Linked DNA regions of Homo sapiens: all the other regions are linked to region 2. The links are contacts of gene promoters, found by promoter capture Hi-C in human tissues and cell types (Jung and others, 2019). All regions are on one chromosome and are shown on one strand. The core of a region is centred on a gene start or on the middle of the fragment in contact, and the rest is flanking DNA. Distances in the headings are between cores, read along the strand shown. Region 1 overlaps ZNF845 (zinc finger protein 845). Region 2 holds the start of ERVV-1 (endogenous retrovirus group V member 1, envelope). Region 3 overlaps LOC122539214 (Zinc finger protein LOC122539214). Region 4 overlaps ZNF525 (zinc finger protein 525). Region 5 overlaps ZNF813 (zinc finger protein 813).

Evidence for each region. Contacts are between HindIII fragments. The study calls those that stand out against the background at their distance.
Region 1: a contact is called between a fragment that was not itself captured here and the fragment with the promoter of ERVV-1 in region 2, in 4 of the 25 tissues and cell types used here (bladder, dorsolateral prefrontal cortex, mesenchymal stem cells and 1 more).
Region 3: a fragment that was not itself captured here is called in contact with the fragment with the promoter of ERVV-1 in region 2 in 2 of the 25 tissues and cell types used here (dorsolateral prefrontal cortex and spleen).
Region 4: a fragment that was not itself captured here is called in contact with the fragment with the promoter of ERVV-1 in region 2 in 7 of the 25 tissues and cell types used here (bladder, dorsolateral prefrontal cortex, heart left ventricle and 4 more).
Region 5: a contact is called between a fragment that was not itself captured here and the fragment with the promoter of ERVV-1 in region 2, in 4 of the 25 tissues and cell types used here (dorsolateral prefrontal cortex, mesenchymal stem cells, pancreas and 1 more).

The regions. Positions count from the first base shown.
Region 1 is chr19:53,353,315-53,356,014 of GRCh38, reverse strand. ZNF845 (zinc finger protein 845) reads right to left here. Exons shown (of 4, transcript NM_138374.3): 4 at 1-2,700. The coding sequence ends at 2,427. It also overlaps the pseudogene LOC107987264. Among named protein-coding and RNA genes, the nearest start is that of ZNF525, 11 kb to the left of the region's middle. The HindIII fragment of the contact is 6,579 bases long and covers 1-2,700 here.
Region 2 is chr19:53,012,481-53,015,180 of GRCh38, reverse strand. ERVV-1 (endogenous retrovirus group V member 1, envelope) reads right to left here and starts at 1,260. Exons shown (of 1, transcript NM_152473.3): 1 at 1-1,260. The coding sequence starts at 1,090. All of the region lies in intron 1 of LOC124904758 (a long non-coding RNA gene), which reads left to right. The HindIII fragment of the contact is 3,820 bases long and covers 252-2,700 here.
Region 3 is chr19:52,652,693-52,655,392 of GRCh38, reverse strand. It overlaps LOC122539214 (Zinc finger protein LOC122539214), which reads left to right. Exons shown (of 4, transcript NM_001396016.1): 4 at 990-2,700. It also overlaps a transcript of ZNF83 not described here. Among named protein-coding and RNA genes, the nearest start is that of ZNF83, 16 kb to the right of the region's middle. The HindIII fragment of the contact is 5,670 bases long and covers 1-2,700 here.
Region 4 is chr19:53,379,602-53,382,301 of GRCh38, reverse strand. It overlaps ZNF525 (zinc finger protein 525), which reads right to left. Exons shown (of 4, transcript NM_001348156.2): 4 at 1-1,580. The coding sequence ends at 283. Among named protein-coding and RNA genes, the nearest start is that of ZNF765, 14 kb to the left of the region's middle. The HindIII fragment of the contact is 5,110 bases long and covers 1-2,700 here.
Region 5 is chr19:53,492,841-53,495,540 of GRCh38, reverse strand. ZNF813 (zinc finger protein 813) reads right to left here. Exons shown (of 4, transcript NM_001004301.4): 4 at 1-2,700. Among named protein-coding and RNA genes, the nearest start is that of ZNF813, 26 kb to the right of the region's middle. RefSeq lists an enhancer at 2,259-2,700. The HindIII fragment of the contact is 8,734 bases long and covers 1-2,700 here.

The DNA.
Region 1 (2,700 bases), core at 44-2,543, 340 kb before region 2:
GAGGATATAAAAAGGGATTGTAAACATCCAAGTGCTACCTATTCATGGGATGCAAGGATGGTTCAACATACTCAAATCAATGGGATACACACTTGCACAGAATGACAGATAAAAAACACATTATCTCAATAGATAGAGAAAAAGCATTTCACAGAACTCAATATTCATTCTTCGTAAAAATCCTAAACAATATAGGTAGAGTTTTACCTCAAAAATATAAAAATCATCCATGAAATGACCACAGCTGAAATAACCAATGAAGGAAAATGGAATGGTTTTCCTGTAGGATATCACATGATGCAAGAATGCTCTCACCCCTGATATTCAATAAATACTGGCTGTCCTAGGCAGAGCAATTAAATAGCAAAAGAAATAAAACTCATCCAAATCAGAAAGACAGAAGTAAAATTACATTTGTTGGGGCCGGGCTCATGGCTCACACCCATAATCCCAGCAATTTGCAAGTCCGAAGTGGGCGGATAATGAGGTTAGGCGATCTAACATATTCTTTCAAGTTCTCTTCAAGGTACTCACCATGTTGGCCCACCATCTGGGCCAACATGGTGAAACCCCGTCTTTACTAAAATAAAAAAAATAAATAAATTAGCTAGGTGTGGTGACATGCGCCTGTAGTCCCAGCTACTCAGGAGGCTGAGACAGAATTGCTTGGACGTGGGAGACAGAGGTTGCAGTGAGCAAAGATCATTCCACGGCACTCTAGCCTGGCGACAGAGAGAGACATTGTCTCAAAAAAAAAAATTATTTCCTTGTAGATGATACGACATTCTATATAGAAAATCACTGGCTGGGTGCGGTGGCTCACACCTGTAATCCCAGAACTTTGGGATGCTGATGGGGGCGGATCACCTGAAGTCAGGAGTTCAAGAAAAACCTGGTCAACATGGTGAAACCCCGTCTCTACTAAAAATACAAAAAAATTATACGGACATGGTGGCAGGCACCTGTAATCTCAGTTAGTAGGCAGGAGAATCACTTAAACCCGAAAGGCAGAGGCTGCAGTGAGCCAAGATCGTGCCATTGTACTCCAGTCCAAGTGACAAGAGTGAGACTCCTTCTCAAAAAAAAAGAAAAGAGCCTGGGTAACAGAGTGAGACTGTCTCAAAAAAAAAAGAAAGAAAATCACAAAGAATCAACCAAGATTTTACTGATACTAATAAACCCACTCAATGTATTTGCAGAATACAAAATCAGCACCCAAAATTAGTTGAATTTCCTTACATTAACAATAAATAATGTTTAAAGAAACTTATGAACACACTTCAATTTGCTATGAAACTTAATACTTACAAATAAACTGAATTAAGGAGGTGAGAAGCTTGTACCTTGAAATCTACATTGATCAAAAAAACTAAATAGACATACAACCCATATTGATGGATTGGAAGTCTTAATATTGTTGAATGATTATACAAACAAATGTGATTTAGATTCAACAGATACCCATAAAAACCCGTAACAGTTTTTATTAAAGAAACAAAATACAGGGTGGGAAAAGTGACTCATGTCTGTTGGCCAGTCTGGTCTCAAACTCCTGACCTCAAGTGATCTATTGGTCTTGGCCTCCCAAAGTGCTGGGATTACAGGCGTGAGCCACCCCGCCTGGCCCAATCTTCTTAACATAAACACTTTAATGTCAATTAATGCTTGAACTCAATGTTAAGTCAATTCAAACTCAAGTCAATGCTGAATTGACTCTAATGCCAATTAATGCTTGATGGTTTGCTATACTCATTGCATTTGGAACAATCATCTCAAAAATGAATTTTCTGATGTTCCTTAAGGGGTGATCTCAGACTGAAGACCTTGCCACACTGATGACATTTGTAAGATTTCTGTCCAGTATGGATTCTCTGATGTCTAATTAGGTGTGAACGTGAAGTAAAGGCTTTGCTGCAATCATCATACTTGTGAAGTTTGTCTCCTGTATGAAGTCTCCTGTTTTGCATAAGATGAAGCTAGACTGAAGACCTTGCCACAATCATGACATTTGTAAGGTTTCTCTCCAGCATGAGTTCACCGATGAACTGCAAGGTATGAACAATGTCTGAAAAATTTGCCACATTTATTACACTTTCAAAATCTCTCATTATGGATTCTCCAATGATTTGAAACGGTTGTAGTGTTACTGAAGACTTTGTGATAATCATTACATTAGTAAAGTTTCCCTATACCATGGATTGCCTGATGGTGAATAAGTGTTGACTGCCCACTAAAGGCTTTGCCACACTCAGTACACTTGTAAGGTTTCTCTCCAGTGTGACTTCTAGTTTGTTGGGCCAGGTGTGAATCACGCCCAAGATTCTTGTCACAAACTCTTACATTTGTAAGCTTTCTCTCCAGTATGAATTCTCCTGTCTTTCAAGACTTGATTTACAACTGTAAACTTTGTCACATTCTTCATATTTCTAATGTTTCTTTCCAGTATGAATTCTATGATGACGTGCAAGTTTTGCTTTTCGATTAAAAACCTTGCCACATTCATTACACTTGTAAGGTTTCTCTCCAGTATGAATTGTCTTATGAATTACAAGGACTGAATTGTGACGGAAGGTTTTGCCACACTCATTACACTTGTAAGGTTTCTCTCCAGTATGAATTCTATGATGACATGCAAGGTGTGCTTGTTGATTAAAAACCTTACCACATTTATTACACTTGTAAGGTTTCTCTCCAGTATGA
Region 2 (2,700 bases), core at 11-2,510:
TGGTACTCTTAGCTATGTTGTCTATTTGTCTGGAGAGATTTCTGAGGGTGACATCATGATAAGTGAACCCTCCCCATGGGGCGATCATTCCTATGGCCGCACCCATCCCTGCCAGTATTAGACCCAGAGCTCTTTTCTGTCTGGGTTGGGTGGTGTTATAAATGGTCACACCTATCCCCCGTGGTCCCAAAAGTCCCACAGCACATTCTCCCGTATGTTGGATGTTATTAATGCAAGTGTAGAGGTTTGCCACAGGGGGGGTTGAATAAGTTATCTTAGGACTTCCATCAAAGGGCAGTTTATTTTTTTGTGGCCCACATAAAAATACATAGCCAGGAGGGGTACAGGCCCACCGGGGGATGTGGCTGTCGAACCACTTGTGTAACTGCGATTTCCACCCTGCTGGAATAGTTTGATTGCATGCAGGGGATAGAGGCCCTCCCAGGGGAACAGTAGATTTTGGCCATGTGGGGACAGTGTGTGCCTTGGGAAGCAAATATAGAACCCTCCATGTGATTAGCTCTTTTCCTTCCCAAGCTGCACAGCGGTTTTGGGGTGACTTGTCTCGATAATCGTTCATTTGTTTAGCTGGACACCAGTGAGTCAAGTTAGGGTGGCAGCCTGCTGGGGAGAAGCTCATGGGATGGATGGTGGGACTGGGGAATCCCTCCTCAGAGGTGTTCTTCCTGTCACAGTGTCCTTCAGGGCATGGACAACAGGTTTGGTTTAGAGAAGAGCAGTTGTAGAAATAGAAAGAAGTTTTAGAGCTTTGATTGAAAGGTGGAGTGAGATCCAGGCAGGGGACTTGGTGCGCTGAGTTAGCAAGCGAAACCTGGAGCGGAACAGATTTATGTTGGCCTTCAGGGATTCCTGAACCAAATGTTAGGTTTAAAGAAAAATTTCTTACCAAAATATATTGGTAAGATGAGGACCTGGTGATGAAGTTGTGGCAGATCCAACAGTTGCTTAGATGGTTTCCCGAAGCAATTATTTTGGAAAAACTGACAAGGGAATTTTCATTCCACTGTGCCTGTGAGAGTAGGGGCATGGGAAGGAGGGAAAGATAAAGGAAAAGGAATTTCTCTGTCATAGCTGATTCTCCCTTAAGCTTTGTGAAAGCAAAAGGAAAGTGCTGAAAATAGGAGAGACAAATAATGAAATGGTTCGATGGAGTGTTTAGTGAGAAATCAGGCTGTTATCGGGACTTCAGGTGGCATGCCAGTGTGGGTCAAAATAAGGAGAAGAACCGATGCCACCGCAACCAAGATTCCCCGTACTGAGAGACCTTTTTTTGAGGTGAAAGGAGAGAAGGCTTTACTTATCTTTTCACTTGAAGAGGAATTGGAAGCTCTCCAGTGGCTGGCTCATGAGACTACTCAGATGCTGATTCTGTTGTTGGTTCTTCGGGACCTTCTCACAGTTTTACTCAGGAGTGATGTATCCAACTAGAGATTCCAGAAACTTTGATAGCTGTCGGGGTAGAAAGTAATAAAGGGGCCTTTCCATAAAGGAGAGACCCAGGCTAGTTGAGACCTGGGTGACCCATCTCTCCAGGTTTTGATGAGGACTTGTGACCCTGGCTAGTATAAGGGTTGATTACTGGAGGGGTCAGTGGCAGGCAGTACCTTTTGCTCAAACTCCTGGATGGCTTGTTGAAATTGGGCCAGTGATGTTATGTATTTGATTAATTGGGTAACTTCTGGATCTAACATTAGGTCTGCATGTAGGAAGGCATAAGTAATATTAGGGGTCATGCTCAGAACAGTGCTACGGACAGGAGTTCTAACCATGGTGAGGAGGTTTCCTGGCACACTTTGTTCAGGGTCCTTTTAATAGTTTGATTAGTGCTTTCTACCTTGCCAGAGGAATGTGTTCTCCAGGAGTGCTAGGAGTACTTTATTTCTAGGGCTTTTGTCACTAATTAAAGGGTGCGTGAAATAAAAACTGGGCCGTTGTCACTTTGTAAACACAAACTAAACCCACACTGAGGGGTGATTTTTTTTTTCTTTTTGTTTTTGAGACGGAGTCTCGCTCTGTTGTCCAGGCTGGAGTGCAGTGGCACAATCTCAGCTCACCACAAGCTCCACCTCCCGGGTTCACACCATTCTTCTGCCTCAGCCTCCTGAGTAGCTGGGACTATAGGCGCCCGCTACCACACCCACCTAATTTTTTCTCTTTTTTAGTAGAGACAGGATTTCACTGTGTTAGCCAGGATGGTCTCAATTCTCTGACCTCGTGATCCGCCTGCCTCGGCCTCCCAAAGTGCTGAGATTACAGAAGTGAGCCACCACGCCCGGCCGGGATGATTTTTTTTTTTTTTTTAAGAAGTACCTTGGCTACTTCCTGGGCCTTTTCTGTTCTTGTAGGAAAGGCTTTAACCCACCCAATAAAGGTGTCCACAAACACCAGAAGGCATTTATAGCCTCTACAGGCTGGCAATTGAGTGAAATACATCCATCAGTCTTTCCCTGGGTAAGCTTCCCAATGCTGAACTGGCTCAACTAAGCAGGACAGGGAGCTGCATTGGCTCTGGCCGGTTGTCCTGGGTCACAAGGAGGCAAGGCTACGCGTTTGAGGCCAACCTGGGCAACATTGAACAAAAAAAAAAATTTGGCTGGGCACGGTGGCTCATGCCTGTAATCCCAGCACTTTGGGAGGCCGAGGCAGGCGGATTACCTGAGGTTGGGAGTTCAAGACCAG
Region 3 (2,700 bases), core at 81-2,580, 360 kb after region 2:
TATCCTATGGAGTGGTTTTACATAAAAACAGAACATTCATGAACACTTTGACTAATAGAATTGAACGTCATCCTGCTCTAAGCAGAGATGCCCCTGGTAGCCCTGAGCAGAATTGTCAGGGTGGCCCAGGAGATGAGCTAGAAAGCATGACAGTGACTGACAAGTGTTTCCAGCTGTGATTCTGCTTTTGTTTTGTTTTGTTTTTTGAGACAGAGTCTCCCTCTCTTGCTCAGGCTGGAGTGCACTGTTGTGATCTCAGCTCATTGCAACCTCCGCCTCCTGCATTCAAGCAATTCTCATACCTCAGCCTCCCAACCTAACTGGAATTACAGATGCAAGTCACCATGCCTTGCTAATTTTTGTATTTTTATTAGAGATGGGGAATCACCATGTTGGCCAGGCTGGTCTCAAACTCCTTGTCTCAAGCAATCTGCCCACCTCAGCCTCTAGCCAAGTGTTGGGATTACAAACCTGAGCCACCACCCTTGGCCTTTTGTTCTGGTTTTTAAGGAGCATCACAGAAGCATCTCTCACTGGTACTGTGACAGTGATCATCACATAAACTAATGATCATGTTCTCTAAACAGCAGTCACTGCTGTAGAAATTCCTCTTAGGGAGGACATCATTCAGGCTTACTGCATCATATATATGAGGCTCTTGACTGAACTCTGTTTGACATGGAATTTTGCTCTTGTTGCCCAGGCTGGAGTGCAATGATGTGATCTCTGTTCACTGCAATCTCTGCCTCCTAGGTTCAAGAAATTCTCCTGCCTCAGCGTCCTGAGTAGCTGGGATTACAGGCATCCACCACCATGCCTGGCTAATTTTTGTATTTTTAATAGAGACAGGGTGTTCTTAAACTTTGAAGATCATATTTGGGAATTTTAAAATAAGTATTGCTTTTTGTGTAATATTAACACATTTCAGTATTAAATATTATTTACCATCTGTACTTAATTGGAAACCTATTGGTCTTTATATTTTTTAGATAGCTCTTTAAAATCCATGACGGAGTTCTCATCAACAGGGCACGGTAATACAGGAGAAGTGATCCACACAGGGACATTGCAAAGACATAAAAGTCATCACATTGGAGATTTTTGCTTCCCAGAAATCAAGAAAGATATTCATGACTTTGAGTTTCAGTGGCAAGAAATTAAAAGAAATGGCCATGAAGCACCCATGACAAAAATCAAAAAGTTGACTGGTAGTACAGACCGACGTGATCAAAGGCATGCTGGAAACAAGCCTATTAAAGATCAGCTTGGATCAAGCTTTTATTCACATCTGCCTGAACTGCACGAATTTCAGACTGAAGGGAAAATTGATAATCAAGTGGAGAAGTCTATCAACAATGCTTCCTTGGTTTCAACATCCCAAAGAATTTCTTGTAGGCTCAAAACCCATATTTCTAATAGGTATGGGAAGAACTTTCTCCATTCTTCATTATTGACACAAATCCAGGAAGAACACATGAGAGAAAAACCTTTCCAATGTAATGAGTGTGGCAAAGCCTTTAATTATAGCTCACATTTAAGAAGACATCATGTAACCCATTCAGGAGAGAAACAATATAAATGTGATGTATGTGGCAAAGTGTTTCATCAAAAGCAATACCTTGCATGGCACCATAGAGTTCATACTGGAGAAAAACCTTACAAGTGTAATGAGTGTTCCAAGACCTTCGGTCACAAGTCATCTCTTACACGCCATCATAGACTTCATACTGGAGAAAAACCTTACAAGTGTAATGAGTGTGGTAAGACCTTCAGTCAGACGTCATCCCTTGTAGGGCATCGTAGACGTCATACTGGAGAGAAACCTTACAAATGTGAAGGATGTGACAAAGTTTACAGTTGCAGATCACAACTTGAAACACATAGGCGAATTCATACTGGAGAGAAACCATACAAATGTAAGGTTTGTGACAAAGCTTTTAGGCATAATTCATGCCTTTCACGCCATAACAGAGTTCATACTGAAGAGAAACCTTACACATGTAATGAATGTGGCAAGGTTTTCCAGCGTGATTCATACCTTGCACAACATCAGAGAGTTCATACTGGAGAGAAACCTTACACATGTAATGAATGTGGTAAGGTTTTTAATCAAAAAGCACACCTTGCATGTCATTATAGGCTTCATACTGGAGAGAAACCTTACAAGTGTAATGAGTGTGGCAAGACCTTCAGTCAGAAGTCATCCCTTGTGGGCCATCGTAGACTTCATACCGGAGAAAAACCTTACAACTGTCATGAGTGTGGCAAGACCTTTGCTCGAAATTCATCCCTTCTAATTCATAAGGCAATTCATACTGGAGAGAAACCTTACAAGTGTAATGAATGTGGCAAGGTTTTTAATCAACAGTCAAACCTTGCACAACATCAGAGAGTTCATACTGGAGAGAAACCTTACAGGTGTAATGAGTGTGGCAAGACCTTCAGTCATATGTCATCCTTTGTATACCATTATAGACTTCATAGTGGAGAGAAACCTTACAAGTGCAATGAGTGTGGCAAGACCTTCAGTCATATGTCATCCTTTGTATGCCATCATAGACTTCATACTGGAGAAAATCCTTATAAGTGCAATGAGTGTGGCAAAGCCTTTAGTGGGCAGTCATCACTTATTCATCATCAAGCAATCCATGGTATAGGGAAACTTTACAAATGTAATGATTCTCACAAAGTCCTCAGTAA
Region 4 (2,700 bases), core at 169-2,668, 370 kb before region 2:
AGTATGAAGTCTATGATGGCATGTAAGGGATGATGTATGACTGAAGGTCTTGCCACACCTATTACACCTGTAAGGTTTCTCACCAGTGTGAATTCTCCTATGTCTTTCAAGGTTTGATTTGAAACTGAAAGCTTCATCACATTCTTCACATTTGTAAGGTTTCTCTCCACTATGAAATTTATGATGGTATACAATGGATGACGTATGACTGAAGATCTTGCCACAATCATTACACTTATAACATTTCTCTCCAGTATGAATTTTCTGACGTATTTCAAGATTTTATTTGAAACTGTAAGCCTTGTCACATTCTCCACACTTGCAAGGTTTCTCTCCACTATGAAGTCTACAATGGCAGGTAAGGGATAACTCCTGACTGAAGGTCTTGCCACACTCATTACATTTGTACAGTTTCTCTCCATTATGAATTCTCCTATGTCTTTCAAGACTTGATTTGAAACGGAAAGCTTCATCACATTCTTCACACTTGTAAGGTTTCTCTCCAGTATGAAGTCTACGATGGCATGTAAGGGTTGACATATGACTGAAGGTCTTGCCACAATCATTACACTTGTATGGTTTCTCTCCAGTATGAGTTATCCTATGACTTTCAAGGTTTGATTTGAAACTGAAAGCTTTGTCACATTCTTCACATTCGTAAGGTTTCTTTCCAGTATGAATGCTACGATGGCATGCAAGGTATGACTTCTGACTAAAGGTCTTGCCACACTCATTACACTTATGTGGTTTCTCTCCAGTATGAATTCTCCTATGTCTTTGAAGGGCTGAATTGTGTCTGAAAGCTTTGTCACATTCTTCACATTTGTAAGGTTTCTCTCCAGTATGAAGTCGATGATGATATGTAAGGGATGACATCTGACTGAAGGACTTGCCACACTCATTACACTTGTAAGGTTTCTCACCAGTGTGACATCTACGATGGCGTGCAAGGTATCGCTTCCGAATAAAGACCTTGTCACATACATCACATTTATATTGTTTCTCTCCTAGATGAATAATCTGATGTTTCCTTAAGAGTGAGCTATAATTAAAGGCTTTGCCACTCTCAATACATTGGAAAGATTTTTCTCTCATGCGTACTTCCTGTCTTTGTGTGAGTAATGAATAATTCAGAAAATTATCCCCATAGTTATTAGATATATGGGTTTTGGGCCTACAAGAAATTCTTTGGGCTGTTGAAACCGAGGAAGCATCGTTGATAGACTTCTCCACTTGATTATTAATTTTCCCTTTGGGCTGAAATATGTGGAGTTCAGACAGATGTGAATGAAAGCTTGATCCAAGCTGATATTTAATAGGCTTGTTTCCAGCATGCCTGTGATCATATTGCTCTGTACTACCCATCAATTTTTTGATTTTTGTCATGGGTGCTTCATGGCCATTTCTTTCATCTTCTTGCCACTGAAACTCAAAGTTATGAATATCTTTCTCAATTTCCTGGAAGGAAAAATCTCCAATGTGATGACGTTCATGTCTTTGCAATGTCCCTGTGTGGATCACTTCTGTATTGCCTTGTGCTGTTGATGAGAACTCCTTCATTGTGCATTTGGAAGAGATACCTACAAAATATAAACACTAATAGGTACACAAAAGACAATACTGATTTTAAACTTCCCAAACATGATCTTCAAAGTTTAGGAACACAAAATCGTAAGATTCTTTAATAAATAAAGGGCGATTACATGTGCTTCAAATTATTATTATGAAAGCTTATTTCCAATATCATGACAAAACACTGAAGGGCACAAACATGTGTAAGCCTAAAATAAGGAGTATTTTTCCACTGTGACCCTAAAGTGTCTAACAGTTTGCAAAAGACATATCACTGTCACATCAATGAAAAGTATATATTCTTCATATTTACAGCATACTTACTGTATACAAATAAATACTAAAGGACCACACAATATAATATACTGGTAAATAATCCACAGCAAGCTCATGTAAGGATAACCAAAATCAATGGAAATTCTGTATTGTTAAATAATCATAGCACTGAGAAGATAAGAAAAGTTTACAAAATTTAGCAAGGCATGGTGGTGCACGTCTGTACTCCCAGCTACTCGCAAGGGTGAGGTACAAGAATTGCTTGAACCCAAGAGGCAGAGGTTGCAGTGAGCCGAGATCGCACCACTGTACTTCAGCCTGGATGACAAAGTGAGACTCCATCTCAAAAAAAAAAAAATATTTTTCTGAATAACTGTCATAAAATTACCTATATCCATGCAGAAAAGGCATATTGTAACATTTAAAATTTTTTTTTTATTTTTGTATTTTTGAGACAATGTTTCACTGTGTCACAACAGGCTGGAGGGCAATGGCCTGATCTCAGCTCACTGCAACCTCCACCTTTTGGGTTCAAGCCATTCTCCTGCCTCAGCCTCCTGAGTACATGGGATTACAGGCACATGCCAGCATGCTTGGCTAATTTTTGTATTTTTAGTAGAGATAGGGTTACATCATATTGGCCAGGCTGGCCTTGAACTTTTGACCTCAAGTGATCCACCCGCCTCAGCCTCCCAAAGTCCTGGGATTGCAGGCGTGAGCCACAGCACCCGCTGGCACTTTGTGACATTAACTAGTAAACTGTGTCAGTTATATTGCATACCACATACCGAAAAGCTTTATGTAAAATCATAAAAATGAATTGGTAAAATAACTGTAACGCATAAAACCAGC
Region 5 (2,700 bases), core at 114-2,613, 480 kb before region 2:
TTTTTGTAAAACTGATGTGCAAGGGGCATGGTGGCTCATGCCTGTAATCTCCACACTTTGGGAGGCTGAGGTGGGCAGATCGTGAGGTCAGGAGTTCAAGACCAGCCTTGCCAACATGGTGAAACCCCGTCTTACTAAAAATACAAAAATTAGCTGATGTGGTGGCACGCGCCTGTAGTCCCAGCTACTAAGGAGGCAGAGACAGGAGAATCACTTGAACCCGGGAGGCAGAGGTTGCAGTGAGCCGAGATTGCACCACTGCATTCCAGCCTGGGAGACAGAGCGAGACACCATCTCAAAAAAACAACAACAACAAAAACAAACAAAAAAACTGATGTGGATGGTGTGCCTGCCACTCCATGCATCACCTTCAACATTGTCTTGTCCCAACTCAAACTAAGTTATCCATTTACAAACTGTTTATTTCTTCTGGGCATCATCTCCATAATCTTTTCATAAAGCATCAATGATTTCATTATTCCTCTACCCAAACTTTACAAGAAGTATTTTTTTTTTTGAGCCAGTATCTCGCTCCATCACCCATGCTGGAATGCAGTGGCATGATCATAGCTCACTGCAGCCTCAACCTCCCAGGCTCGAGCTATCCTCCTACCACAGACTCCACAGCAGCTGGCCCTGCATGCATGTGCTACCGTGCCCAGCTAATTTTTGTATTTTTTGTAGACAAGGGGGTTTCACCATGTTGCCCAGGCTTGTCTTGAATACCTGGGCTTACATGACCCACCTGTCTTGGCCTCTGAAAGTGCTGGGATTACAGGCCTGAGCCACTGCATCTGGTCTCACTGTAAATTTGATGCTCCTTTTTGTTTCAATTTTAGCAGGATTTATATTGCTTTGATAGAGTCTCTTTTCTTTTCTTTTCTTTTTTTTTTTTTTGAGACAGAGTTTCGCTCTTGTTGACCAGGCTGGAGTGCAATGGTGCAATCTCGGCTCACAGCAATCTCTGCCTCCCGGGTTCAAGCCATTCTCCTGCCTCAGCCTCCAGAGTATCTGGGATTACAGGCATTTGCCACCATGCCTGGCTAATTTTGTATTTTTAGTAGAGATGCTGTTTCTCCATGTTGGTGAGGCTGGTCTCGAACTCTGGATCTCAGGTGATCCACCCACCTTGGCCTCCCAAAGTGTTGGGATTACAGGCATGAGCCACTGCGCCCGGCAGAGAAAGTCTCTTTTAAAACTCATGTCTTATCCTTCTGGGTGCCTCAAACTAGGACCTGTTCAGACATAACAGATTCGTACCAGTTTATTTTGGTGCAAAAACTGGGAAATTCATACACAATTTTCTCATAATATGCAAAATATGTATTTTTCCATGAACTTCTTGAAGACCCCTTGTACTAAAAAGCTGTATTCAAGAGGATGTAAAAAGGACTGTAGATACTCAAGTGCCACTTATTTCTGGGATGCAAGGATGGTTCAACATAGTCAAGCAAATCAATGTGATATGCCACTTGAACAGAATGAAAGATGAAAACCACATCATCTCAATAGATGGAGAAAAAGTATTTCACAAAATTCAAAATCCACTCATCATAGAAATTCTGAACAAAATAGACAGAAAAGGAAATTTACCTCAACAATAGAAAGGCCATCCATGAAATGACCAACGAGTAGATAACGAAGCAGGGAACATGGAATGATTTTCCTGTAGGATCTCACATGATGGAAGAATGCTCTCACCCCTTCTATTCAATAAATACTGGCTGTCCTAGCCAGAGCAATGAAATAGCAAAAGAAATCAAACCCATCCAAATCAGAAAGAAAGAAGTAAAATTATATGTGTTTGTAGATGACATGATCTTCTGTGTAGAAAATCACAAAGACTCAACCAAAATACTACTGGAAGTAATAAACAGATTCAGTGTATCTGCACAGTACAATATCAGCACCAAAAATTAGCTGAATTTCCATACATTAACAATAAACAATTTTAAAAGAAAATTTAAAAACACTTCCATTTGCTAGAGAACTTAAAGTAAGAAATACTTAGGAATAAAAGCAAAAAGATGAGAAGTTTGTAACAATAAACAATTTTAAAAGAAAATTTAAAAACACTTCCATTTGCTAGAGAACTTAAAGAAATAGAAATAAAAGTAAAAAGGTGAGAAGTTTGTACCTTGAAATCTACAAATATACATCAATATGATTAAAAACATATACAGACATATAACCCATATTGATGGATTGGAAAAATTAATATTGTTAAATGATTATATAACCCAATGTGATTTAGATTCAACACGGTACCCATAAAAATCCCTATCAGTTTTTGTTAAAGAACAAAAAGCAAACTGGGAAAAGTGGCTCATGTTTGTTGGCCAGACTGATCTGAAACTCCTGACCTCAAGTGATCTACCCGCCTTGGCCTCCCAAAGTGCTGGGATTACAGGTGTGAGACACTGTACCTGGCCCAATCCTCTTAACATAAACACTTTAATGTCAATTACTGCTTGATGGTTTGCTCTACTCATTGCATTTGGAACAATTATCTCAAAATGAATTTTCTGATATTCTGCAAGGAGTGAAGTCAGACTGAAAACCTTGCCACACTGATGACATTTGTAAGATTTCCGTCCAGTGTGCATTCTCTGATGTCTAAGGAGGTGTGAACGTGAAGTAAAGGCTTTGCCACAATCATCACACGTGAGGTTTCTCTCCTGTATGAATTCTCCTATGTTT